Linked DNA regions of Homo sapiens: regions 1, 2, 3, 4, 5 and 6 are each linked to region 7. Evidence: promoter capture Hi-C in 16 types of primary human blood cells and fetal thymus (Javierre and others, 2016). All regions are on one chromosome and are shown on one strand. Each heading gives the region's core, a stretch centred on a gene start or on the middle of the fragment in contact. The rest is flanking DNA. Distances are from core to core; before and after follow the strand shown.

Region 1 (3,420 bases), core at 400-2,899, 1.0 Mb after region 7:
GCCACTGCACCCTGCCAGAATTCAGTTTCTTGAGGTTATAGGACTGAGGTTGCCATTTCCTTGACATGGTTACCTTAATCTTCAAGTTAACAGCAGCACTTTTAATCCTTTTCATCTTGGAATATCTGACTTTATCTTCTACTACTAGCTGGAAAAATATCTCTGCTTTTAAGAGCTCACGTGATTCCATTGGGCCTACTTGGATAAGCCAATATAACCTTCCATTTTAGGTCAGCTGATTAGTAACCTTAATTACACCTGTCAAGTCCATTCTGCCATGTAAAGTAACATATTCACAGGAGTGACTCCAGAGGGAGAAGGTCATGAGGCCCAACATTCTGCCTACCACAGATGGGTTTGGAATATATTTCATAGGTGGAAGTGGAAAGATTGGCTTCAAAAAGTATTTAACATCATATCTAATGAGACATTTATCCCTTATCTAGAAACTTCTTCTTTTTTCTTTTCTTTTCTTTTTTTTTTTTGAGACAGGATCTCAGTCTGTTGCCCAGGCTGGAGTAAAGTGGTATGATCATGATCACGGCTCACTGTAGCCTCAACCTGCTGGGCTCAAGCGATTCTCCCATCTCAGCCTCCCAAGTTGCTGGGACCACAGGTACCCATCACCATGCCTGGCTATTTAAAAATTTTTTTGTGTGGAAATAGGGCCTCCTTCTTTTGCCCAGGCTGGCGCTGAACTCCTAGGCTCAAGCAATCCTCCCACTTCAGCCTCTCAGAGTATTGGGGTTACAGGCATGAGCCACCACACCTGGCCTAGAAGCTTCTTTGAGGCCCCAATCATTTCCTTGAGTTCTCCCCTTCATCAGTCCCCAAATATCCTACTTGAGATCTTTGGGTGTGCAGAAAGAAGAGAAAGACAACTATCACTCAAGAAAAAATTTGAATTTGGGAATAAGAATTGTAGTTTGTGAGGCAAAAAACATGATGAAATGAAGCAGGAATTTGTGAGTGTGGAGGTCACTTTTCCTGTGGCTCTCCTTCTGCCTGGGTGTGCTGGCATGAAGGAAGCAGAAGAAATGAGTAAAGAGAAAAATAATCTGGGACTTGGGGTCATACATGATATGTGAGGAGGAGAAACCAGAAGCATTTCATATTAAAAAAGGTAAAACAGCAAAGAAGATCCAGAAAGCCCTAAGCAGGAAGGGAACAAATAAAGGCAGAGACAATGTTAAGGCCACACAATATCATTGACTAACTAACTGCTTTAGGAAAAAAAAATTATTAATATGTGTACATTTTAAAAAGAAACCATTTTCATAGAAGACATAATCTCACTACTTAGAATCAACCCTGTAATTTCCTAATGATAGTCAAGTATTTACCAAGTTCCTTGTCAAGTACGTTATATGCATATATACATACAAACATTGGAGGGAGGGGCTGTTATTATTTTTTATTTTATTTTATTTGTTTTTGAGACGGAGTTTTGCTCTTGTAGCCCAGGCTGGAATGCAGTGGCGTGATCTCGGCTCACTGCAACCTCCATCTCCCGGGTTCGAGTGATTCTCTTGCCTCAGCCTCCCAAGTAGTTTGGATTACAGGCACCTGCCACCACGCGTGGCTAATTTTTTTTTTTTTTTTTTTTTTTTTTTTGTATTTTTAGTAGAGACGGGGTTTCACCATGTTGGGCAGGCTGGTTTCAAACATCTGACCTCAGGTGATCTGCCCGCCTTGGCCTTCCAAAGTGCTGGGATTGCAAGCATGAGCCACCACGCCCGGCTGAGGATGTTATTTTTAGAAGGAAAAGGCCACATTGAAAACTGAGTGGACAGCTTGATAAATCTAAGATAGGAAAATTTTGCTGAACCAAAGGACCTTTTGGAGTGTTCTATTTTTTCTCACAAGCCCAGGACCTCTGCAAAAAACATCCAAAACTACTATAGAAAATGCACATTTTATTCTACTGTTTCTTCCAGCAGATGTGGATTTTTAGCGAGGAGCAATTTCACGTTCTTGGTCCAAATTTTAAAACTGCTAGGTCACTGTGTAAGAAACAGTTGACTAGGTTTTGCTTTCCATTGCCTTGGACCAGCTAAAACAATTGTGCCCTCTAGCCTATGAAGTCTGTACTGCAAAGGCCATTTCAACAGTGTTTGCTTCAGGTTTATCCTCAATTTTGGTTCTTGAAATCAAAAGTCATAAAAAAATATGGTAGAGATTCACAAAGACCTCTCCAGTTTTCTCTTTCAGTTGTAAATAACAGAATAACTAAAATGAAAACAGCTTAAACAGTGAAGACTTTTAAAACCCCACATAACAAGAATTGTGTAATAATGTAATGGTGTAAGTAAAGCAATTAATCTCACTTGGGTGCATAAACTGACTATTGTGAGGTTCATTTACTTCCTTAGCTCTACCAGAAAAACAAAGTAACTATACTACACTTTTGTCTTCATATTTTAAAAACCTTACCTATTATAGGAAAATATTCCCTAAAATATTGCTAAGTAGGAAGGTATTGATCATTTCCTAATAAAGGCACACGACTAAGCTTATACTGATAAAGTCCGGAAGTTGCCTGCTTGACCTTTATTAATCACCTGGCATTTAGGATACTGATTTTTTTAAAGCTACATTTTAGTCAGTTAAAGCCACCTCAGCATCTTTAAAGAATGCTTTGATTTGATCTATTTCTACTTTTTCTTTGAGGAAATCAAGCTGGGAGTTCTGAGAGCACATTCTGTTTGCTTATTTGTTCCTTTTATCCCTTTCTGTCCTCTCTGCATGCTAGGGCACACCTCACCTTGAAAAGAACTCATCAGCCGCCCTCAAGATGGGAATTGCAATGCCTTCATCTTGAGCCACTTTTAACAGAGTTTCATTTTTTTTCTGCTTTGATTTTGAATAGTGCCTATGTTTGAACACACTAAACACATTTTGGCCAAGTTTCCTTCATAGAGTTGGAATTCAGATTGGTTGTCAGGTTATTTAAAATAACTTTCTGTCTGGATTGGATCACTGTTAATTGCTCTGATCAACTGCAGTACATGGTTAAGGTAAAAAAAAAATATTGAGAAGAGACCCCCAGTCAATCTGATCTTACTTCATAGACACAGACAAATGATGAATTTATGTTAGTTAGGGAGGCCAAGGAAGGAAGAGGAGACATCATTAAAGAGTAAATGTTTCCAGCATTAGTTTCTGGGTCATTAAGCCCTAATGATTGATCTTATTTGGTTATTTTAAAGGCTACTGGAAACTAAAATGGAAACAGTTCAGAATACTTCCTTTGTATACAGAAGATTTTGTTCATGGCAACAGCTATGTGTGCCTAAACATTTTGTGTCACACAAACTCCTGCATTTGACATTTCTATCAGAGAGAACAAATAAAAATCATCCTAGAGCTTTCAAACACTCAAGCCATGTTGGGGCTTTGAAAGATCTTGTCATTTCAGAA
Region 2 (3,256 bases), core at 173-2,672, 1.1 Mb before region 7:
TCCATACTTAACACTATTACTTTATATCAATTTGACTACAAGTTTCACTGTCTCTGGTTTTGCCCCTTTGCATGATACCATCAGTAATACTCCTATTATTTATCTATATTATCTATATTATTAATAGATATACATGATAGAATTAAAAAGAAGCAATAGGGTATCAGCTGAAAAGTCTGTCTCCTTTTCATCCCAGTCCTCAGCAGCAGTTTTAAAATTTATCGGGATAATCCATGCATATACAAGTATATCTGTGTGTGTATGTTATAGAAATATTTTTGTTTTGCTTATTTTTAACAGGTAGTATTATCTTGAAACATAAAAAATATCCTGGAGATCATTCCACATTAGTATACACAGAGCTACCCTCTTATTTTTAAAGGTTACAAGGTGTTTCACCATAATATACCATAATTATTTCACTGGTACCCTAGTGATGGACATTTAATCATTTCCAGTCTATTATATGCAATGTCATAGGACATCCTTGTATATATATTTTTGCATATATATGTGCACATCTATGTGGGATAAGTTCCTGGAAGTGAAAGAACATGTACATTTTAAATTTTAATAGATATTGCCAAACAATCCAAAGGTCTTCAAGATATTTTGGTCATGGCTAAAACACCTTCAACAGTACTCTTGTAGCTTTTAAGATCTAGTAGTGTGCAGTTCTTAGAAGGTGCTTTAGAATCTGGATCCTGCTTACTTCTCTGGCTACTTTTTCATCTTTCTCTTACTCTTCAACCCCCACTTCAAGCTCCCATTGTACTCCATTAAATCCATTCCCAAACATTATGATCTCTCTTTGTCTTCTGCCTTCACACGTCTACTTTAAAAACCTTTTCTCTATCCTCATCATGAAGAGTCAGACTTCTCAACAAGAAGCACACAATTCGGGCCTTTCTTTTCCCAAAGTTTTTCCCAGCCATACACTGTGCCCAAGCCCAGTTTTGATAAGGTACTTCTCTTTTGTATTCTGACAGCATTCTGTACTTCTAATATTGCCTTTATCTTACTGCAGCACAATCTTCAAAGATTTTGTCTCCATGAATAAATATGAGCCTCTTGATAGCAGAGACATCATCTTAGCACAGCTCTTTGTGGTTTTGCTAAATTAAATTGTACTTTTGCTAAATTACATTTTGAAAGATTCAAAAACATATCGTTGTGCTACTTTAGTTTTACTACAACAGTTAAGATGTTTTATTGACCAAACTGAAAGTAATTATTCTTGCTTTAATGATTACTAAACCCAAATGACACTTATATAAACCTTTAATAGAATCCAGACAAAATTCTCACCTGAGTTTTGTTGAAACTGTACATAATATTGATGACTGTAAATGGAGTGAGATGGTAATGCTGAGCATGGTAATTAACCTGTAAAAAAGATATTTCATTATTTTTTTCTGTTAATGTTTTGTCAAGAAATAACAGAGCCATGAAAGAAATATGGTGGAATTGCAGTATAAACAAAAGTTAATTCCAAAGTCAACATAAATTACACATAAGCAAAATTACTCTTAAAAGTGCTTTAAATAACCTATTAAAAGTACAGTATGTATGGTTATATAAATACAATCTGAAGACCAATGCATAATACACACAGTACTGTAGACTATATAATAAAGAGGGTCTTATTTGATATTTGGTTTGCCTTAAACAACTGAATTACATCTCCCAACTCATGTTCATTTTAGGCAAGCATTTTTCAAACTGTACTTGGCAACTGACTGGTATATGAAATCAACTGGGGGAGTGTCAAAACAATATTTATTATGTGAAACAATAAAATATTAGAATGTATTACATTCTAATGGTATTATTTCATAAAACATTTAAAAATAATATATTTGTTACTTATATGTAATGTATCCATTGGATCTCCATGTTAATATTACTACAATGTAAAATATATATCTGAAATACACTGTTCTGTGGCACATACAGTCAATGCTACTTTAATGGTATTTCTGTATACATACTTTTCAGTGCTAAGCATGAACAGATTAATTTATAATGATTTATACTGTTTTGAACTCTAACAGCTAACAAATACAGGAAGCATTACTTTACAGAGAAAGTGGGTTATAACAGGACGGGCGCAGTGGCTCACACCTGTAATCCCACCACTTTGGGAGGCTGAGGCGGGCGGATCATGAGGTCAGGAGATCGAGACCATCCTGGCTAACACGATGAAACCCCGTCTCTACTAAAAATACAAAAAATTAGCTGGGCACGGTGGCGGGCTCCTGTAGTCCCAGCTACTCGGGAGGCTGAGGCAGGAGAATGGCGTGAACCCAGGAGGCGGAGTTTGCAGTGAGCCGAGATCATGCCACTGCACTCCAGTTTGGGCAACAGAGCGAGACTCCGTCTCAAACAAACAAAAAAAAAAAGTGGGTTATAACAGAGTTTGCAAGTGGGGTCCACTGACTCCTGAGGGCCCCATTACCCTTTCAGGGGCTTGACAAGTTCAAAATTATTTTCCTAGTGATTACTAAGATATAATTTCCTTTTTTCACTGTCTTGACATTTTCACTAATGGTACAAAAGCAATGGTAGGTAAAACTCCCAGCTCATTAGCACAAATTGAGGCAGCACCATCAAACTGTATTTTCGTACTTACAGTAATTTTTCACCTCATTTACCCATAGAGAGAAAAAAGCAACCTTCATATAGTAATATCCTTGACAATGAAGTAACAAAATGTTAATTTTATGAATCCTTGACCTTTGAGTACACATCCTCTTTCTAATTAATATCCTGTGTGTTACATAAGGAAGTAAGATTGCTGTCATGAGGAAAGCACTTGTATGATAGAACTGCAAGCTAAACTAGCCACTTTTTTCACGGAACATCATTTTTACTTAGAAAAACTCATTGACGGACTATACCTATTCACTTTCAGGACAGACATATTTTAAAAAATAAACAAAGTGAGATTGTTGATTAAAACAAAAATAAATAACAGTATTTACTGTCAATGATAAGTTTGAATTTTCAACTAAAACTCAGAATTTTGGAAAATCTATATGCATCGTCAAGAGCTGACAATACTTATAGACTTTTCTAGTGAGATCAGTAGTATTTTTAATGAAGATGATTTTTTGATATTTTATAATCAAATGTTTTAACAACAGGAAGATCTATGTAACTCAATTGGTCAATATTTTTCAAATAACTTATGCACAATTACATGGAATCAGGCATAAGTAAAAATATCTATTCAAGATGCAGTATAGTTAAATGG
Region 3 (3,386 bases), core at 131-2,630, 1.8 Mb before region 7:
TTACATATAAACGATGGAGGTAAAAAATAAATCGGCCAATAATAACTAGCAAGTAGTATTTGGTAATTCTTTTGGTGAGGCCGACTTAAAAATTTACGAAATATTATTTATTTTCATTGCAAGTCTATCAGAAATCACTAATGGTGTAGCACTGCATTCTTCCCTGCTTTTGGTTCTCAAACTACGTATCTTAGTAAACGCAATTTGCAGACAAACCAAGCCTCGCTAATCAGTGCATCATGGCTACTCTGGTAAAGGAAGAAATTCACTGTTTGCCAAGCATCCCATCAGATGGGTGACTTCACAGCCACTGGAAGAAATCTTTCTCATGTTCGAGTAGATGGAAACTCCAAAACTGTGCAGTTGCTAAATCCACTTGTCACACCTCCTCCTTTTCTCTGCTTCTAAGGTTGCCCTCTAAACTCTTTATCTGAGGATGGAAACACACACACGCACCCACACACACCCACACCCACACACACACAAACGTATTTGGCTAAAGGTCAATTCACATAGTGGCAGGGACTTTCGTTTATATGCATTTTCCTTCCCAGCTCTCTCAGTTCTGAGTCAGGCTAAGCAGGAGGCAGAGAGCTCGTCCTCCTCTGCATGGGCGCTTTTTCTTATTTGACTTTTAGTCCTGGGAGGAGTAGCGTAGTTGCGAGATACTAGGATATCCACAAGCGGGATGAATTTGGACCTTATCCCTCACTGTGATCCTTCACTTCGCCTTCTGTTTCAATTTCTCCCAGTCGGTTTACTGCTTGACAAAATTCTTTCACAATTAAGTGATCACAGGACAACCCAACCCAACCAATCCAAACCTGCAGGCAACCCCAGACATCCAGGGAACCCTGGCGCGGCTCGGGCCAGCCCACACCCACGCGGAATCATTCCATTTATCGGCCACCAATCAGCCCTCCACACGCTCCCGCGCCAGCCAATCCGAACAAGCGCACGTTGTTCCGGCCACCTCCTCTCAGCCCCCCCTCCCCGGAGCCCCCGGGATCGGGCCAGGGGGCGGGGCTGGGGGCTCGGCCCGCCTTGCCCTGAGGCGCTGGGTGCCTTCCAGTTGGCTGCGACCAGCGGTGACTTACAAGTTGGCTGCTGTCGCCTGCGCATCGGCGGGCCGGGAGGCTGAGCAGTACTGTTGAGAGCGGTGTGAGGTGCTTGGTAGCGCGCCGTAGCTGCTTCCACGTCCTTGCTTCACCTCAGGTAAAGGTAAGGAGAGCCACGGAGCCGCGGCAGGATTGGGGTGGCCCGTGTGGAGGGCGACTGTGGCGCCCGGGGCGTCCTGCCAGGTGCGTCTTCTGGACCTGCTCCAGACCATGGATCTGGGGAGCTCGCGGTGGACGTTGGGGATGGCGGGCCCCGGCGTCCGGGCGGGAGAGGACCTCACAGATGAAAGAGAAACCTGAGCCCCTGGGAGGGGAAGCGGCGAGCTGGAAGGATCCCAGGGCTTGCAACTCGCCCCTGCGCGCCGCTCACCTATTTAAGTACTTGGAATCCATTAGACCTCAGTGTCCTCAGCTGTTAAATGGGAGAGGGGCGGTGGTAATCCCGCTTGATTTGGGACAGTCCTGTTCTTTGGAGGTCACCGCGCTTCCTGGTTCTTAGGAGGTGCACAGACAGCGCAGGGGCAGCCGCGTCCCACCAGGCTTCGCGGAGGTGATGCCAAAGACAAGAGACAAAGTTTTCCCAGGGCTTACTGCCTTCCAAGGTCCCTGCTAAATGTATTAACTCAAATAATTTCTCACCAAATCAGTGTCATTGTTTTCCCGAATTTACACTTGAGAAAGATTACCTTAGATTTTTAGGTTCAGCAGCCAGGACAAAACTTGACAAATATTTGGTGGGCCCAGGTTTTTTATATGAAGTCTTTTCCAGCCTGTGATCAGCTTCCACAGTTTTACAAGAGAGAGCTTTAGGCTCTGAAGTCAGACGCCCTGGGTTGGAATTCTGGCTCCATCACTTATGAACTGTGTGATCTTGGACAAGTGACTCAACCTTCCTGTTGCTATTTTCCCTTTCTGTAAAACAGGGAAAATGTATAGACATTAAGCTACTATTCTCACTTATGGAAGACCTCAAGATATCTAAAGTATGCCCATTTACACCAATCCTAGAGCTTCTGAATAACTAAAATTCCTTTACCATAATGAAACACATTTTCTCAAGGAGGACTATTACTGTTGTGAGGATTAAATAAAATAAATGCAATGTAAAGCAGCCAGAAGGACTGACCATGTAGTAAGTGATCAATAAATGTTATTGTTATTTTTTAAAATCAAGTACAGAGCATTAGGTTTTTTTTTTAATCAAGTATTAGAGCATTAGGGGTTTGAACAGTAAGTTGGCTCACTATTCATATTGTAGAAATATACTTCCATGTTGCATTTCTTTAAATAGTGAGCTCCTGCCAGAGCCAGTCTCAAAAAATGAGAAGCTGCTGTACTTGTCTGAGTTAGAAAACTTAACAGTTCAACATTGATTGGAAATCAAGCATATGCTGAAATTTTTATGTTAGTTAGAAAATATAATTTAATTTACAAAGCTTTGGTTTGTATGACATTGGGGAAAGTCCATGGCATGTTAAACTGAAGCTGTTGACGGAAGTGAAAACCATATTAATCAAGTAATGCAAGGTTAGACCGTTCTGATACCTGCATTTCTTTAACAAGTGAATTCTGACCTAGTCGTACTACAAAAGTCCAAACAGATTTTTATGGCATTCACTTTACATTACAGGTTAAATGTTTTATTATGTTCCATATTTAAAATAGAACCTATGCCATCTCACTGTGACAGATATTTGAGAATAATTGGAGTTGGATTGGTCAAGACTATGGTGCTGATAGATGGCCTCAAGAAAAGTAACTTGAGACAGCTGCCCTCCCTATGATGGCAGCCACTATCACCACTAGTGATAGCTTCAAAAGCATGGGCATAGAAAACATGAACAAAAAGATTAAAGGAAAAACATGGAGGTGGACATTACTCAGCATTTGGCCATGGGACTGACAAGAGTATAAAATCTTTTATATGAACCTATTATATTCTGATAAGGTTAAGTGGTGCCTGTTCTCTCTGACGTGTAAATGTTAGAGTTGGATAATTTCCTGATATAAGGTCAAGATAAGGGAATAAAAGACTGAATTAGTAAAAGGAAGTTCAGAATGGGTTCAGAATGGCATTTAAAACATTTACCTGACATTCTCCACAGTTGGAGATTGCAGGAGGGCAAATTAGGTGTTTTCCTCTCAATTAATGTCAGTACCCTGTTATATTAGGAGAGAGAGCCAAGACCTTGATAACCCATCTCCCCCAACCCTCTTGGTTCTAGAATATATTAATATTTTGAGAAATGCTCAATTATGCCTGTTTAC
Region 4 (3,476 bases), core at 328-2,827, 1.1 Mb after region 7:
AGGCTCTGGCTCTGGTTTTGTCCTCAGCTCACCTGTGATATCTTTGTACCTCATCTAGCACACATCCAGACCCAGAATGGGCTTTGCAAACAACGGATGCCTATTACCTTGAAGCATCTAAATGATGTAAAACCAAGGAAAGATTTGTTTTTGTGGTTTTTGGATTTTGGTGTATGAGATATTATAGAAAACTAAATATGTAAGCTGTGACAACTTCAATGAGAGAATGCCAGCAAATTTTTAGATTAGGGTTTAGACACAGCCAGGACCATAAAATAGTTACTTTTCCCCAATCTTTCAATCACAAATAGAAGGTTTTTCAAAGGAAGGAAGGTAAAAAAGACCAATAATAATAATAATAATAATAATAATAATAACTCTTGGATTATTTACACTAGTAGAAGTGAAAAAAGTACTTTCAAATTAAAAAAATTTCACTGACCTAATATTGAGATTGTTGAAGAGAAAAGAACTTATTTGTTGATTTGTATTCTCTTTTCAGTAATGGGGACTGCTAAAAGAAATCCATACAGGAGACAAGGAAATTATATTAATGAAATCTTTGTATAATTTAAGCTAAGCAATCATCTCCAGTACACCAAACCACAGGCTTCCTGTACTCATCAGTCCAGACGAATGACATATTCACAAATGTATCATTAGAGTTAGCAAGAGGTTTCTTGTTTTGTTCTTTATTTTTAGACATTGCTAGGGAATATTTATTTCTGTGCAATTCCTAAATTCTGTTAAGTCTTCAACTGATTTAAATGAACAAAAGACATCACTAAGTCATAGCCTAGAATTGGAAGGAAGCTTAAAAAAGCCAGAGGCCCAACTACTCCTCAGCAATGTTCATAACCACTGGTCATCCAGGCCTCCAATTCAACTCTCTAGAGATTTAGAAGTGACTGTTGAACTAGGCAGCCCATGCTGATTCCAGTCTACTCAGATGTCTATAAATTCCATCCTTTAAAGCCACACAGAAACAGGCTAACGCCTTTTTCCAGGCAGGCATTTCCTGTAACGCAACTCAACTCCTCCTAGTAGAGAGTGATGGCTATAGGAGGGAGGGGATGATTAGGAAGCGGTTGCTGTGGGTAGGTCACCAGGCACTGCAGGGCTCTTGCTTCTTGTGAGAGGAGTATTGGTGAGTGAGAGTGGACAATGCTCTCTGTTGACACTGACCATGTTTCAAGATGTAGTTTGAGCCTTACAGACAGACTGAAGGATGTATGCAATTTCAGTCCCAATTATAGCTGTCAACAAGTGAGTTTCACATATTTTCCCCTTGCAGTCCCAATTTCTCCACTACCACTCTGCATTTCTTAGGCTCCAGAAGTCATCCATGTGAATATTCTGGGATGTACTAATGGCAGGGAGATAATACCCCTGGATTAGGGTAGAGGACTGTCTTTGAGATTTTTACCTATGTCCAGCACCCTTCCTGGGCAGCTTCCGTGATGAATGAATTCTGTTTTCAAACATGGAGTGCACTTGGGCTTTCAAAAATATGAACGTCTTTTACTGTCACATGGAGTCAGTGGCAATGAGAATTAATCAGGATCTGATGGTCATTTCTGCCATGCAAACCTCCTTTATGTAAATAGAGAGAGCTTCCAAATTTCTTCAGGCTCAAAACAGGGTGCAAAAACTCCACAGTCCTCCCATATTACCAGCATCCTTAGTGTAAGGTTTCTGATACAGAAAATCTTCAAAGATTCCATTTTCAGGGGACGTTTCTTCATTTTGATCATGCTTTACTTTCCCTCAGTGTCATTTTTATCTGTCTTGGATTCATTTTACTTTCTTAAAAACACTTTCTTTTTTTGAAGATGAGGTCTCACTCTGTTGCCCAGGCTGGAGTCCAGTGGCACAATCATAGCTCACTGTAGCCTCAAACTCCTGAGTTCAAACAATCCTCCCCTCTCAGTCTCCCAAGTAGCTGGGACCACAGGTATGTGCCACCATGTCCAGTTCATTCCTTTTATTTTTTTGTAGAGACAGGGGTCTCACTATGTTGCCCAGACTGGTCTCAAAGTTCTGGCCTCAAACAATCCTCCCACCTTAACCTCCCAAAGTGCTGACATTACAAGTGTGAGCTGCTGCTCTTGGCCAATTTTTTTTTTTTTTAAATTTTAGGTTATGTGGGTTACTTTACAGCCCTGAGACAAAGTCAATTAGTAACAATTAAGCAGTATCTAGATTTAATGATTTTCAGAATTTTTATACTTACAACCCTTTAAAAGTTAAAAATATGTCATGCTTCCCAGAACATTATAGTAGTAGAATATTTAGTAGCCATTGATTGAGAAATTATCTAATGACTAAAGCAGAAGCTTTTGAACACATCCCAGTAGCAACTGAACAAGTCCACAAGTTTGAAAAATTGAATAGAAGTGAGTCACATTAATCCTTTTTAGGTAGTGCTTAGTATGCATACTCTTCAACTCAGTGTCTGCTCAGAAGTTTGCACCCACCCTTTCCCCATGTTCCCTCCTTCCCCCCTACAGACTTCCCCGAAGAATCGACATATTTCTTTAGCAGCTTCTTAATTCATAATACTTATTGGTTTTGCCCAGAATGCAAGCTAAAGCTTCTAGCTTGACCTAATTAGATTTTACCTTAAAACCACAGAAAGTTGGAGCTGGAAGGAATAATAGAGGTCATCTAGTTTTACCTCCTTAATTCCCAAATAAGAAAACTAAGACCCCAAGGCTTACAAGCAGCTGCCCTGGGGCACAGAGAATAGGACAGAACCAGGTTCTTCTGGTAGCATTCTGGTCCCAGTCTCTGCCTGGATCTGGTGCACAGAGCTACTAGGCCTGCATCTGGAGCACTGGTCACTCCAAACGGCTAGAAGTTTCTCCAGTATCAGGCTGTGTCCTGCTGCTAGCATATTATTTGTGTAACTCCTCTTGCCCAGAATCGATTTCTCCCCACAATTACTTGGTAGCAATTTAGTTCATCTTCCAGACTCAGCTAGAGTAAAACCTTCCCATGAAGCATCTTTAGACCCTCAAATAAGACACCCCACCTCTTTTGTGCTTCTACTGTAGAAATAATAAGAATAATGGCTAACATTTACTGAGCACTTACTACATGCCAGTAACATTACATGTTACATCTCACTTAATCCTCATAACATATTATGCCATAGGAAGTATTATTTGCCTTTAGCTTAAAAATAAGGAAATGGAAGCTTAGGGATATTGAGTAATTTGTATAAGTGTCAGAAGTGAGATGCTCCCTCTCACAGTGTGAGTCAAGTATCACACACTTAACCACTCTGTTATGTTGCTGTGTGTTGCACAACAGTTGTAGCACAGCATTCATAACATCTGAGCGTACTTATGTTTTGATGTATGTCTTTCACTCCCATTAGACTATAAGCACCTCAGAGAAAGGAATAATATTTTATCTGTCTTTTTCCTCCCCATACCTAGCAGTTTCTGTCACAGAGTATGTTCTCAATGTAT
Region 5 (3,568 bases), core at 595-3,094, 1.0 Mb before region 7:
TTTTGGAGCTTTAAAATTTGACTGCCCCAGTGGATTTCAGACTTGCATGGGCCCTGTAACCCCTTTGTTTTGGCCAATTTCTTCCATTTGGAATGGCTGTATTTACCCAATACCTGAACCCCCTTTGTATCTAGGAAGTAACTAGCTTGCTTTTGATTTTACAGGCTCATAGGCATAAGGGACTTGGCTTGTTGCAGATGAGACTTTGGACTGTGGACATTTCGGTTAATGCTGAAATGAGTTAAGACTTTAGGGTACTGTTGGGAAGGCGTGATTGGTTTTTAAATGTGAGGACATGAGATTTGGAGGGGCCAGGGGCAGAATGATCTGGTTTGGCTGTGTCTCCACCCAAATCTTAACTTGAATTATATCTCCCAGAATTCCCGTGTATTGTAGGAGGGACCTGGGGGAGGTAATTGAATCATGGGGGCCAGTCTTTCCTGTGCTATTCTCGTGATGGTGAATAAGTCTCACAAGATCTAATGGGTTTATCAGGGGTTTCTGCTTTTACTTCCTCCTCATTTTTATCTTGCTTTCACCATGTAAGAAGTGCCTTTCACCTCCCGCCATGATTCTGAGGCCTCCCTAGCCATGTGGAACTGTAAGTCCAATTAAACCTCATTTTGTTCCCAGTTTTGGGTATGTACTTATCAGCAGCATGAAAACAAACTAATACAGTATCAAATAGAAATTATTTACAATTAAGTTATACACTCCATGGCAAAACTAAACTGATATCACATAATATCAAAAATAGTTAAGAAATTGTCATCTAGAAAGTTGTTAAATTACAAAATCAATATTAATTCTAATGCAACAGTTCAAACTGATAAATATTTTTTCATGGCTATAGTTTTTTCCTATGATTCACTTTTGGTGTCAGATTGTTTTCCCTGGAAAATCAATTCTAATCTAGGAAGGTAATTGCAGTATTATGGACTAATTTGAATCGTGTCAGTGAAGATGCTAATAGCCTTGATTCCAAGCAACTGGAGGACTGAAGCTTAAGGTTTGAGAAATATGATTGAAGAAAATATAATGCATATTTTAAATTGTGTAACTTACTAATAGTTTCATCTCTTTCCTGACTTTTTAATGAGTACTCACTAGGTAGATTTCTCTAGGTAAAATTTTGATAAGTGCTATATAAGAGCACTCAGAATGCTAAGGAAACATTGAAGGATGTCTTCTAAGTTATCCTGAGAGAACAGTCATTGCGTTGGAAGGCTTCTAAAATGAGGTGTCTTCCCAGGTGAATGTGTCACTTTGGTTGAAGATAACAGAAACTCAATTTGTTACTTTAAACAGAAGATTTGACAGGATAATCAGGGTTTATAGAATTGATGGAAGGCTGTAAGTCAAGGATTGAAATGGACAGGAAAAAAAAATGCTGTTCTAGAGGACCAAGAAGCAGGAGGTACCACAACTGTCTTTTGGCAGGAAAATCTGTAAGGGTGCTGCTATCATGGCCCAAGGCACAGTTATTGCTACTTTCATCTTGATATTATCTGCTAAAAATTCAAATTCTTAAACTAGAACACATACTTGGCCAAACTTCTGTCATATTCCAACACAGAGTTCTGAGAAAATATAATCTGCCGTTTTTGGCTTTTGTAGTGGATGATGAAACACCACTTCCCATTCATATTACATGAAGAATTCCCCAGGTAGCATGGAAGGGTGATTGGATTCTCCAGATCCAAAATGTTGACAAATGTCTAACATCCGAGTCTTGATCAAGAGTAAGCATTTACCTGGTGTGTGGTTATTAGGGAGCAGGGGGTGGTATGCGTTTGTGTGAGTTTGTGGCAGCAGTTGAGGAGTGAGTGGGCAAGTATATTTTCAGACAGAGGAAGAGCATGCATGAGGTTATTAAGAAACGAGAGCTCATGATATGTTTAGGAAACTTAAAATATTTTTTAATTGATTACATAGCAGTGGAAAAAGTTTTAAAAATAAAGAAGACTGGGCCAGGCACGGTGGCTCACGCCTTTAATCCCAGCACTTTGGGATGCCAAGGTGGGTGGATTACCTGAGGTCAGGAGTTCGAGATCAGCCTGGCCAACATGGTGAAACCCTGTCTCTACCAAAAATACAAAAATTACCCAGGCGTGGTGGCAGGCGCCTGTAATCCCAGGTACTCGGGAGGCTGAGGCAGGAGAATCGCTTGAACCCAGGAGGTGGAGGTTGCAATGAGCTGAGATCGCTCCATTGCACTCCAGCCTGGGGGACAAAAGCGAGACTTCATCTCAAAAAATAATAATAAAATAAAATAAAAAAGACTGGTAAAAAAAAAAAAAGCAGAAAAAAACTGGGCAAGTAGGCAATGATATAGTTTCTGAAAGCATAATTGTGCCATACTAAGGGGTTAGGATGGTTTTGACATGCTTATTTTCCTAATTGCTAATTAATGGCCATTTTAGGATTATATATATATAGGTATATATATAATAATTTGAAAAAATTAGATTTGTCTTGTCAAAACTTCAATGTAGATGACTAATTAAAGGGAGAAAGGGGAGGTATGACTTTATTAGATTTATTTTTCTTACATAAATTTTCTAAATATTCTTGTCATTTTTTAAAATCATTGTGGGTCTCCTATTAGCTTAATATTATTGTGACTCTAAGGTTATACCAATATTATCTTAAAATTATTTAAAATTATTTCCTGTTTTAAGCTTCATTCCTCTGAGATTTATTGTTGCTATGGTATGAGATAGTAGTTCAGATTTATTTTCTTTCAAATTGTGCTCAGCCTCTGTACAGTTTTTCCCCACTGAGTTAAAATGGCAAATTTATCATATATAAATTTTATGCTTTTTCTGTAATCTTTCATTCTACTGATATATATATAAATAAAATCAGTAGATACATATATAAAATCAGTAGATATATTTAGAATAAGTAGATATGTGTAATATATATATATATGTATTTGTGAATTCTTCCTTATATAAACTTGTTCTGTTGTCTTCACTGTAGAATCGATGGGGTGACTTTTTTTCTCTAAACATGCTATAGTTTCAACTGATTCTTATATTATGGAGAAGAATTTTTTATTCGGCCTTCCTTTTATTCCTTTTTAATTCAATCTTCATTTGATTATGAATAACCTGGTTAACAGTTTGTATTTTTTTATGCTTTTAACACTTTTCTAGATCTCTTGAAATTAAAACAAGCAAGCCCCCAGGCTATTATTAAATACCACAGTCTTTTCATTTTTATTTTATCTGGATTATGGTAAGCACTGTTGATATTCTAGGATTTGTTCTCTCACATATGTAGTTTATAGTCTTTGTCAATTTCACTTTTCATTATTACCTTTAACTTACTGATCTTCTAGGAGTGATACGTCAGAGAAGCCTGAGATCACATATTGTAATTTCTGTTTTAAACATAAAAATGCACTCAAAAAACAAAAAAACTTAATTCCGAATCGAAGTAGTTCAAGTTAAATTTTCTTTCAAAGTTCTAATTTTTAAAGGCAGGTCATTTCACAGGACAATCCCTGTATATTACGTTTTAGTATTTTTTTTTTCTTTAGATGGAATCTCGCTCTGTTTCC
Region 6 (3,734 bases), core at 646-3,145, 1.2 Mb after region 7:
CAAGATTTTATTAGGGATTTTCAAAAGGGGAGGGAGTGTATGAATAGGGTCTGGGTCACAGAAATCACATGCTTCACAAGGTAATAGAATATCACAAGGCAAATGGAGGCAGGGCAAGATCACAAGACCACAGGACTGGAGCGAAATTAAAATTGCTAATGAAGTTTCGGGCACCATTGTTATTGATAACGTCTTATAAGGAGACAGGGTTTCAGAGCAACTGATCTGACCAAAATTTATTAGGCGGGAATTTCCTCTTCCTAATAAGCCTGGGAGTGCTATGGGAGACTGGGGTTTATTTCATCCCTACAGTTTCGACCACAGAAGACGACCACACTCAAGGGGGCCACTTTAGAGACCCACCCTCGGGGTGCATTCTCTTTCTCAGGGATGTTCCTTGCTGAGAAAAAGAATTCAGCGATATTTCTCCCATTTGCTTTTGAAAGAAGAGAAATATGGCTCTGTTCCACCTGGCTCACAGGTGGTCAGAGTTTAAGGTTATCTCTCTTATTCCGTGAATAATTCCTGTTATCCTGTTCTTCTTTCAAGGTGCCCAGATTTCATATTGTTCAAACACACGTGCTCTACAATTTGTGCAGGTAACGCAATTATCACAGGGTCCTGAGGCAAACATACATCCTCCTCAGCTGACAGGATTAAGAGATTAAAGTAAAGACAGGCCTAGGAAATCACAAGGGTATTGATTGGGGAAGTGATAAGTGTCCATGAAATCTTCACAATTTGTGTTTAGAGATTACAGTAAAGACAGGCATAAGAAATTATAAAAGTATTAATTTGGGGAACTAATAAATGTCCATGAAATCTTCACAATCCATGTTCTTCTGCCATGGCTTCAGCCGGTCCCTCCGTTCGGGGTCCCTGACTTCCCGCAACAGAGGAGTTATTGTTTAATGAGTATAGAGATTCAGTTTGGGGTGATGAAATGGTTGCATAATATTGTGAGTGTAATTAATGGCACTGAATTGTACACTTAAGAATAGTTAAAATTCCATTTTTTTCACATAACCACATTTTGGTCAAATTTTTTAATGCCAAATTTTATGTTATATACATTTTACCATAATTTTTAAAAATTAATAATATAATACGCCAAAGCCATTAAATTGTACATTTAAAATTGGTGAATATTATATGTGGAGTATATCTCAGTAAAACTATTACTAAAAAACACACACACAAACAACTATGGCTGCTGAAACCAAAAATGTCTCTTAAATGTTACTTACACACATGCACACAAATAAATAGATTTGTATATTTCATCTCTAATCTCAAGCAAGCTTTCCTAAACCCCTCTAGTCCCATTAGAGTTAATCCTATCCATGCATTTCCTTCATAGCATTACCACAGTTGGAATTACCATGGTTGAAACTAGATGTCTAGCTCCATGAGAACAAGGGCTGTTAATTCATTACTTTTAATTCACTACTGCTTCCAAGTGGGTAGCATAGTGTCTGGAATAAAATTGTTGTTGAATGGATGGATGGATGGATGGATGGATGGATGGATGGATGGATGACTTATTGGGCTTAAAGTCTGCATGAATAGCTGTGAGTCTTGTTGGTTGATAATTTAACACTTGCAGAATTTATGGGTTAAACAGGACAAAGAGAGTTCAAATAAGGAAGTGAATATCACCTGATTCTTAAAATTGCCTTAAGAACTTACCCCAAGAGACATACTTATAAGCATACTGAATACAGTGTGAAACATTATTAAAGAAAGAGTCACCCAAATCTGATTTGAAAAGTAAGGCAAGAGGTTTCTGATGGTGCTATTTTGTAGTTGGATAAAAGATTCACTTATACATTATAAGAAAAATGAGTTTGGGAGATAAAATATTAAGAGGAACTTTAAACTCTAGAAACAAACAAAGATAAGCTATTGATATGAGAGGGAAACTACAGAAAGAGGTCAAGAGATCTGATTTATTTAAAGAAACAACATTTCAAGTAGAAAAACTCTAAAAAAAAAATCTAACTTGAGAGGAAAACAGACTTTAGATTGAAGAGGTCTGAAGAATAGTAAGGCAAGAGCAGAGGGCAAACTCAAACTGAAAATTGGAAAAATATTCCTGGAGCTAATTACAGTCATAAAGTGGAACCATTTCCCTAAAGAGGTAATTATAGTAAACTCAGTAGCGACGTTCAAATGGAAATTAAATGTTTATGGAAGACGTGGTGTTCATTTTTCTGATAGAGGAAGTTCTTCTGGCTGACTCATGAGTTCATTACCCTCTTCATTTTCTTCTATTTTTTTGCCTCTTATGAAGTTTTCCATTGTATCTGAGACTGGGTCTGACAAGTGTTTTACAATTGTGCGCTTGGTCAGTATTTTACATTTTATAGGAGACATTAGTTTAAATACCATATGTAAAACTTCACCAAAAAAACTAGGTCAGTGAAGGTATGCAATATCATTTCTCGGCTTCAATTCAGTGCAAGAAACTACCTCAGGCCAAAGCTTCCCAATCTAAAGGACATTGAAGACTAGTGAAATACTCAAAATCTCTTATTCAGATAGTTCTACATTCTATATTCCGTAGAAAAGTACTACATTTTTATACTTCAAGATACAAATTGTGATTTCTGGTTCAAATAGCAAATTTAGAACTAATGCTTATCTCTTCTCTCTCCCTAGACCTCAGTGAAATGATAGTAAAGAATTAAACCCATATCATATCAGTGGAGGAGAGATTCTGAGACATTTCTAGAAAATGAAAAAGAAAGAAAGTCTGTTGACAGATTGAATAAAGCAAAGACAAGACAACTCTGAGCTGTGCATGTGAAATCAGAATGCTGATATTCTGCAGAAGCTTGGGGAAGCAGGTACTATGAGAAAGTCAGATGGAAAGGGGAACCAAAAAGAGTGAGGGGGTGATGGACCTTGTGCCTCTGAATAGCTCCTCTCCCAGGTTCTTCTCTCTAGGATACCAAGAATTTCATTCCCAGGCAAAAAATCAGGGGGCTCTTCTCTTAGGAATTTAGTCAACTGTCAGAGGAGAATTAGAGTTATTAGAGTACATGTGTGCAGCCACTACCATTCTGACATTTGGAGGCCACTCCTGCGTTATGGCCAGCTCCCTGTCTGCCCCCACTCCCCATGGATGTAGAGCTCCTGGTCAGCCATCCTGATGATGCTAAAGAACCAATGAGAAAAACAGCAAAGGCACTCCAGGCCAGCTCTTTGGAAATCAACACTGTCAGACAAAATCACAGACAGATTAGGAAACCATCACCATTGAGGGGAAAAAAAGGTATTATACAGATGAAACAAAAATCCTATGAAAACGGAAGAATCAGAAGTGGTCCTTGAGAAAAACAGAACGGATCCAAGACAACAAATAGCAAAAGTAAGGGGAATAGATGTTCTGACATTATTAAAAAAAAAAAAAAAAAAGAACAAAAGTAGGCCAGGCGCAGTGGCTCACACCTGTAATCCCAGCACTTTGGGAGGCTGAGGCGGGCAGATCATGAGGTCATGAGTTTGAGACCACCCTGGCCAACATGGTGAAACCCCGTCTCTACTAAAAATAAAAAAATTAGCTGGGCATGGTGGTGGGCGCCTGTAATCCCAGGTACTTGAGAGGCTGAGGTAGGAGATTGTTTGAACCTGAGAGGCAGAGGTTGCAGTGAGCCGAGATCACGTCATTGCACTCCAGCCTGGGCGACAGGGCGAGACTCTGTCTCAAAAAAACAAAAACAAACAATAAC
Region 7 (3,763 bases), core at 1-2,500:
GCGCTTCCCCACTCGGTTCCCCCTGTCTGCCACAAACAAACCAGATGTAATAGCTGAAGAATGACGACACTAAAATCAACCTAGAGATTCACATCTAAAAGGGCCGCAACACGAAATAAACTTCTCTCTCTTCAGAGGCAGCGGGGAAGAAAAAGAAAAAAAAGCCTAGGTGGGTTCGGTTTGATCCATTTCCGCGACTCCGTGCGCTCAGGGGCTCTGGGCTGGTGCGGGCGGCTTAACCCTGTGAGAGCCGAGAACGACCCCACCGGGATACGCGGGCCCCGGGCTGGCGGGGGGTGCCTCACGCCGCGCCCGTTCCCCCGCCAGCAGGTGCCCGAAGCCACCCCAACAGGCCGGGTGCGAATGCCGGAACATGGCCACTTTCCTGAGCGGGATGATGCCGCCGCCGCCGCCGCACGCCGCCCAGCACTTTGTTAACTTGGCGCGCCCGGGCGAGGTGGCTCCCAGGAGGTGATCATTGCCGTCCGAGAGCTACAGAGCCCCTGGCCTCGCCCAGCACGGGTGTGGGGCCGCGGCGGGAGGAAGAGGTTGGGTAGCAGCCGCTAACCAGGGGCCCGCACGCCTGGCCCCTCGGAGCCCCGCGCCCCCTTCCCAGGTGCTTACCTGAGGGAAGGAGCCCTCGCGGCGCGGGTTCCTGGGGTAGTCTAAGTGACCCCGGTCCAGCATCAGGTAGAGCGAGAAAATCACCACACAGAAGATCGCACTGCCGAACACGGTGAACTGGCGGCTTAACTTCATTTTCCTCGATAGACTCGGGGCCAGGACACTCTCCTCAGCCAAAGGAGACAGCGCACTGTGGACTCTAGGAAGCAGCCGCCGGAGGCTCCCTTCTCCCGGGCTGCGCGACCTCCGCGCTCTCGGATGCGGGTGCGAGTCCCCGCCTTGCTCCGCACCTAGTCTCCGGCGCCACCACACGCCCTTGGCCTTCGCCCTGGCCTGCCGCCCTCCCCGGGGTCGGGCGCCCCTCTCGAGGCGAGACTCGCCGGCAACTGGGAAGGGGGGCCCCCACAAACTTGATCGCAAGCTCAGCGCCGACCTCCGGCAGGGCGCGCGGGGCAGGCGGAGGAGAGGTCGCTGCCCGCACTTCCTGCCACCGCCGCCCCAACTGAGTCGGCAGGAAAAGTTTTCTCGACGAGGGCAGGCGTGTCCTCCTCACCCAGGGGAGGCGCGGGTTCGGCAGCTCCCGGGCCGGGGCCGCGCAGCTAGGTCAGAGAAGCGGAGGGGAAAGGAACAAGATCGCGAGGAGCCAAGCCCTACAACTTCTGGGCGGGACGGTCGGGCCCGCCCCCGCGGCACCGGCACCGCCCCCGCCTACCCCGACTGAGCCCCTTCGTGCTGCTGCCGCCGCCGCCGCCGACGCTGCGGCTGGGCCGATGTGCACCCCGGACTCCGGGGCTCACGGATTGATGAGTTTCCTCAGAGCTAGCGTCCGCTCGCCAGACTCTCCCGCCCCCCGCCGCCCCTACCTTCCCCCTCCCGGACCCAGGCTCCGCGGGGAGGCGCAGGGGGCGGGCGGCGGCAACGCGGAAAGAAGGAAAAGGAGAGCAGGGAGGAAAGGACCGTCCCCGGAGAGAAGCCCGCTCCAGCTGCAGCCGCTAGCCCCCTCCCTCTTTCCCGCCCCACAAACGCGGAGATGGCGGCGGAAGCGGCGAAAGGAAGCGCCGGTTCTCCAGCGCCACTTGGCGCTCCAGCACCGCCCGCCACGAGCAGGAGGAGACAGCGGCGGCGCAGCAGCCGCTGGGTCAATAGGCGCCCGCAGCGCCTGAGCCGAGCGGGCGGCTGGCCCCGCCCCCTCCCGACGCTCCGAGATGAGGGGGCGGGCCCCACGGCGCCCAATCACAGCGCGTCGCCCGGCGGACCCGCCCCGCGCCTGCCTCCCAGTGTCCCGGCGATAGGAAGACCTCACAGGGCTCTTGTGACCTGGCAGGCAGCTTTCTGGGAGTTGAGGCCTTCGGGGGCGTTCAGGCGCCAGCACCCCCACGTCCAACAGGGGTTGAGCTTACACCCCACTTCCCTTTGTTGCTCAGGTTTCCTATCCTAGGACACTCGGGCCTGGCGTGCCTGGAAGAGTACTTGGTGACGGGCTGGAGGAAATGCAAGAGAAGAGGGCTTGCACATTCTCTTCGGGCTCACTATTTCCTCCTTTGGTGACAGCCTGTTAAAACCTGGGGGAAAGGAGACTGACAAAGGGCCGTCCAGGCACATGTAGAAACATCTGACTACGAAATCCATGAGTGTAATCTGAGAAGTGATGCTTCTGCCAGTTATTGATTTATTGCCTCTCAGCTCCAAATTCGCCCTTTTTGACTGCACTGTAAAAACGGATCTGAGCCTTTTAAACAGTTTTTCGTTTGCCTTCTGGGACTGAAGCTTTATCAGCAGAGGGCGCTGAAGAGACATTACAGAAAAAAAGGATTTTGCTTCCTGATTTCTGTGTATTGATAAGCTTTTGCAGCATACCTGGCTTTCTCCACTGCCAAGGTCCTATAGTGCTCAGTAACTAGCAATTTCCTCTCACATGCCCAACTCTAGGAGCTTTGTAGAGGAGGTGAGACACTACCCCATGAATAACTTCCCTGGCACCCTAGAGGCATTTGCAGCAAGTTGCAGAGGGCACATCTTCCACAAGCTTTGCAGACGTAGCCCAATGGTGACTTCTCTGCCATTCAGTGAGCCAGGTCATGCCCTCTCCAAAAACGTCTAGATCTTAGCCCTGGGAGGAATTGGGGAGGTTCTTCATTGGGCACTCTGTCTCTCAACCCAAGAGTTAGTTATAAGGTTAGCTCCTTATAGCTGCTGTTGCTATATTCTTTAAAGTTCTCTTCTTGCTAGTGAATCCTTCATTACTCTAATCCTCTATTATAGTTAACAATTCTTTTTATTAAGCCTTCCCTGTCCCGGGAGTAGTCCCAAGAAATAGACCTGCAAAGATGGGATTAAAGGTCAGTTTGATTGAGGTTTTGAGCTTTAGCTCCTTGCCAAAGGGAAATGTAATTCATGACATGCTGGGCATCTCAATTAAGCAATTACCTGTGGTTGATCCTGATGAAGTGCCAACTGAAGCCTGTGCCTTGGGGCCCCAAGTGGCTGCTACACTTGACTGCTATGGTTATAAAGATGACTAGAAAGACTGGTGTGGGATGGATTCTTTTGCGTGCTTTTGAGTGGTTATAAAGAGAAATGACAAGCACAGGTTTTTTAACTCTCAGAGTTATGGTATGAGAACCAGAGATATTCTGCAGAATTCCAAAAGCTCTGGTTTATTGTAGCAACAAGAATTATGCTGAGAATCAAACAAAATTTTAATTTTCATGTTACTGAATTATAACTGCTATTAAATTCACACATATTCTGAGTTTTTCGTGTAAAATGGTGTTATTTTTTAATAATAGAATCTCAATACTTGAAATGGGTTGGACCCAGATGAAACCGACAATCTTAAACACGCCAACTCTTTCTCTTATCAGTGGAAGTAGGTTGCCCTCCAGTGTCTAAAGAGACTAGCCTTGCTTGAAAACCTTGACTATAGAGGATGCCACTATCTAGATGGGCTCCCTGATTTCAATGGGGATGACACGATCTCAGAATAGCAGAAACCAGGCAGCACATAACCAACAAAGACAAGGTGGGCGCACATGTACCTTAAAGGGCAGCAGGAAATCAGACTGCCTTGGCTTACGGAGCTGCTCTGAGAACAAAATAGATAGGCAGTTGAAATAGATTATTGCTTGATATTTATAAC

The links. The method cuts DNA at HindIII sites, captures the fragments that hold promoters and counts their contacts. A CHiCAGO score of 5 or more calls a contact.
Region 1: a fragment that was not itself captured here is called in contact with the fragment with the promoter of MAN2A1 in region 7 in 10 of 17 cell types (M2 macrophages, total B cells, naive B cells and 7 more); the score reaches 15.8 in M2 macrophages.
Region 2: a contact is called between a fragment that was not itself captured here and the fragment with the promoter of MAN2A1 in region 7, in 2 of 17 cell types (naive CD8 T cells and naive CD4 T cells). The highest score is 6.2, in naive CD8 T cells.
Region 3: a contact is called between the fragment with the promoter of STARD4-AS1 here and the fragment with the promoter of MAN2A1 in region 7, in 1 of 17 cell types (activated CD4 T cells). The highest score is 6.0, in activated CD4 T cells.
Region 4: a contact is called between a fragment that was not itself captured here and the fragment with the promoter of MAN2A1 in region 7, in 3 of 17 cell types (M2 macrophages, M1 macrophages and M0 macrophages). The highest score is 11.0, in M2 macrophages.
Region 5: a fragment that was not itself captured here is called in contact with the fragment with the promoter of MAN2A1 in region 7 in 1 of 17 cell types (total CD8 T cells); the score reaches 6.4 in total CD8 T cells.
Region 6: a fragment that was not itself captured here is called in contact with the fragment with the promoter of MAN2A1 in region 7 in 4 of 17 cell types (endothelial precursors, erythroblasts, M0 macrophages and 1 more); the score reaches 9.8 in endothelial precursors.

The regions. Positions count from the first base shown.
Region 1 is chr5:108,680,138-108,683,557 of GRCh38, reverse strand. No RefSeq gene overlaps it. Among named protein-coding and RNA genes, the nearest start is that of LINC01023, 46 kb to the left of the region's middle. RefSeq lists an enhancer at 1,663-2,163. The HindIII fragment of the contact is 1,731 bases long and covers 784-2,514 here.
Region 2 is chr5:110,744,399-110,747,654 of GRCh38, reverse strand. SLC25A46 (solute carrier family 25 member 46) reads right to left here. Exons shown (of 8, transcript NM_138773.4): 4 at 1,309-1,386. Among named protein-coding and RNA genes, the nearest start is that of SLC25A46, 7.0 kb to the right of the region's middle. The HindIII fragment of the contact is 6,336 bases long and covers 1-3,256 here.
Region 3 is chr5:111,510,220-111,513,605 of GRCh38, reverse strand. STARD4-AS1 (STARD4 antisense RNA 1) reads right to left here and starts at 1,380. Exons shown (of 7, transcript NR_040093.1): 1 at 1,098-1,380. It overlaps STARD4 (StAR related lipid transfer domain containing 4), which reads left to right and starts at 1,071. Exons shown (of 6, transcript NM_139164.3): 1 at 1,071-1,221. RefSeq lists enhancers at 607-746, 1,227-1,436 and a silencer at 827-1,196. The HindIII fragment of the contact is 3,364 bases long and covers 1-2,556 here.
Region 4 is chr5:108,637,110-108,640,585 of GRCh38, reverse strand. No RefSeq gene overlaps it. Among named protein-coding and RNA genes, the nearest start is that of LINC01023, 89 kb to the left of the region's middle. The HindIII fragment of the contact is 1,523 bases long and covers 816-2,338 here.
Region 5 is chr5:110,727,585-110,731,152 of GRCh38, reverse strand. It overlaps a transcript of TMEM232 not described here. Among named protein-coding and RNA genes, the nearest start is that of TMEM232, 2.7 kb to the right of the region's middle. The HindIII fragment of the contact is 1,678 bases long and covers 1,006-2,683 here.
Region 6 is chr5:108,522,674-108,526,407 of GRCh38, reverse strand. No RefSeq gene overlaps it. Among named protein-coding and RNA genes, the nearest start is that of FBXL17, 140 kb to the right of the region's middle. The HindIII fragment of the contact is 1,183 bases long and covers 1,304-2,486 here.
Region 7 is chr5:109,687,414-109,691,176 of GRCh38, reverse strand. MAN2A1 (mannosidase alpha class 2A member 1) reads right to left here and starts at 1,250. Exons shown (of 22, transcript NM_002372.4): 1 at 625-1,250. The coding sequence starts at 759. MAN2A1-DT (MAN2A1 divergent transcript) reads left to right here and starts at 78. Exons shown (of 1, transcript NR_186543.1): 1 at 78-3,376. RefSeq lists silencers at 387-486, 897-1,106, 1,137-1,656, 1,667-1,956 and enhancers at 2,067-2,166, 1,926-2,594. The HindIII fragment of the contact is 3,132 bases long and covers 1-2,393 here.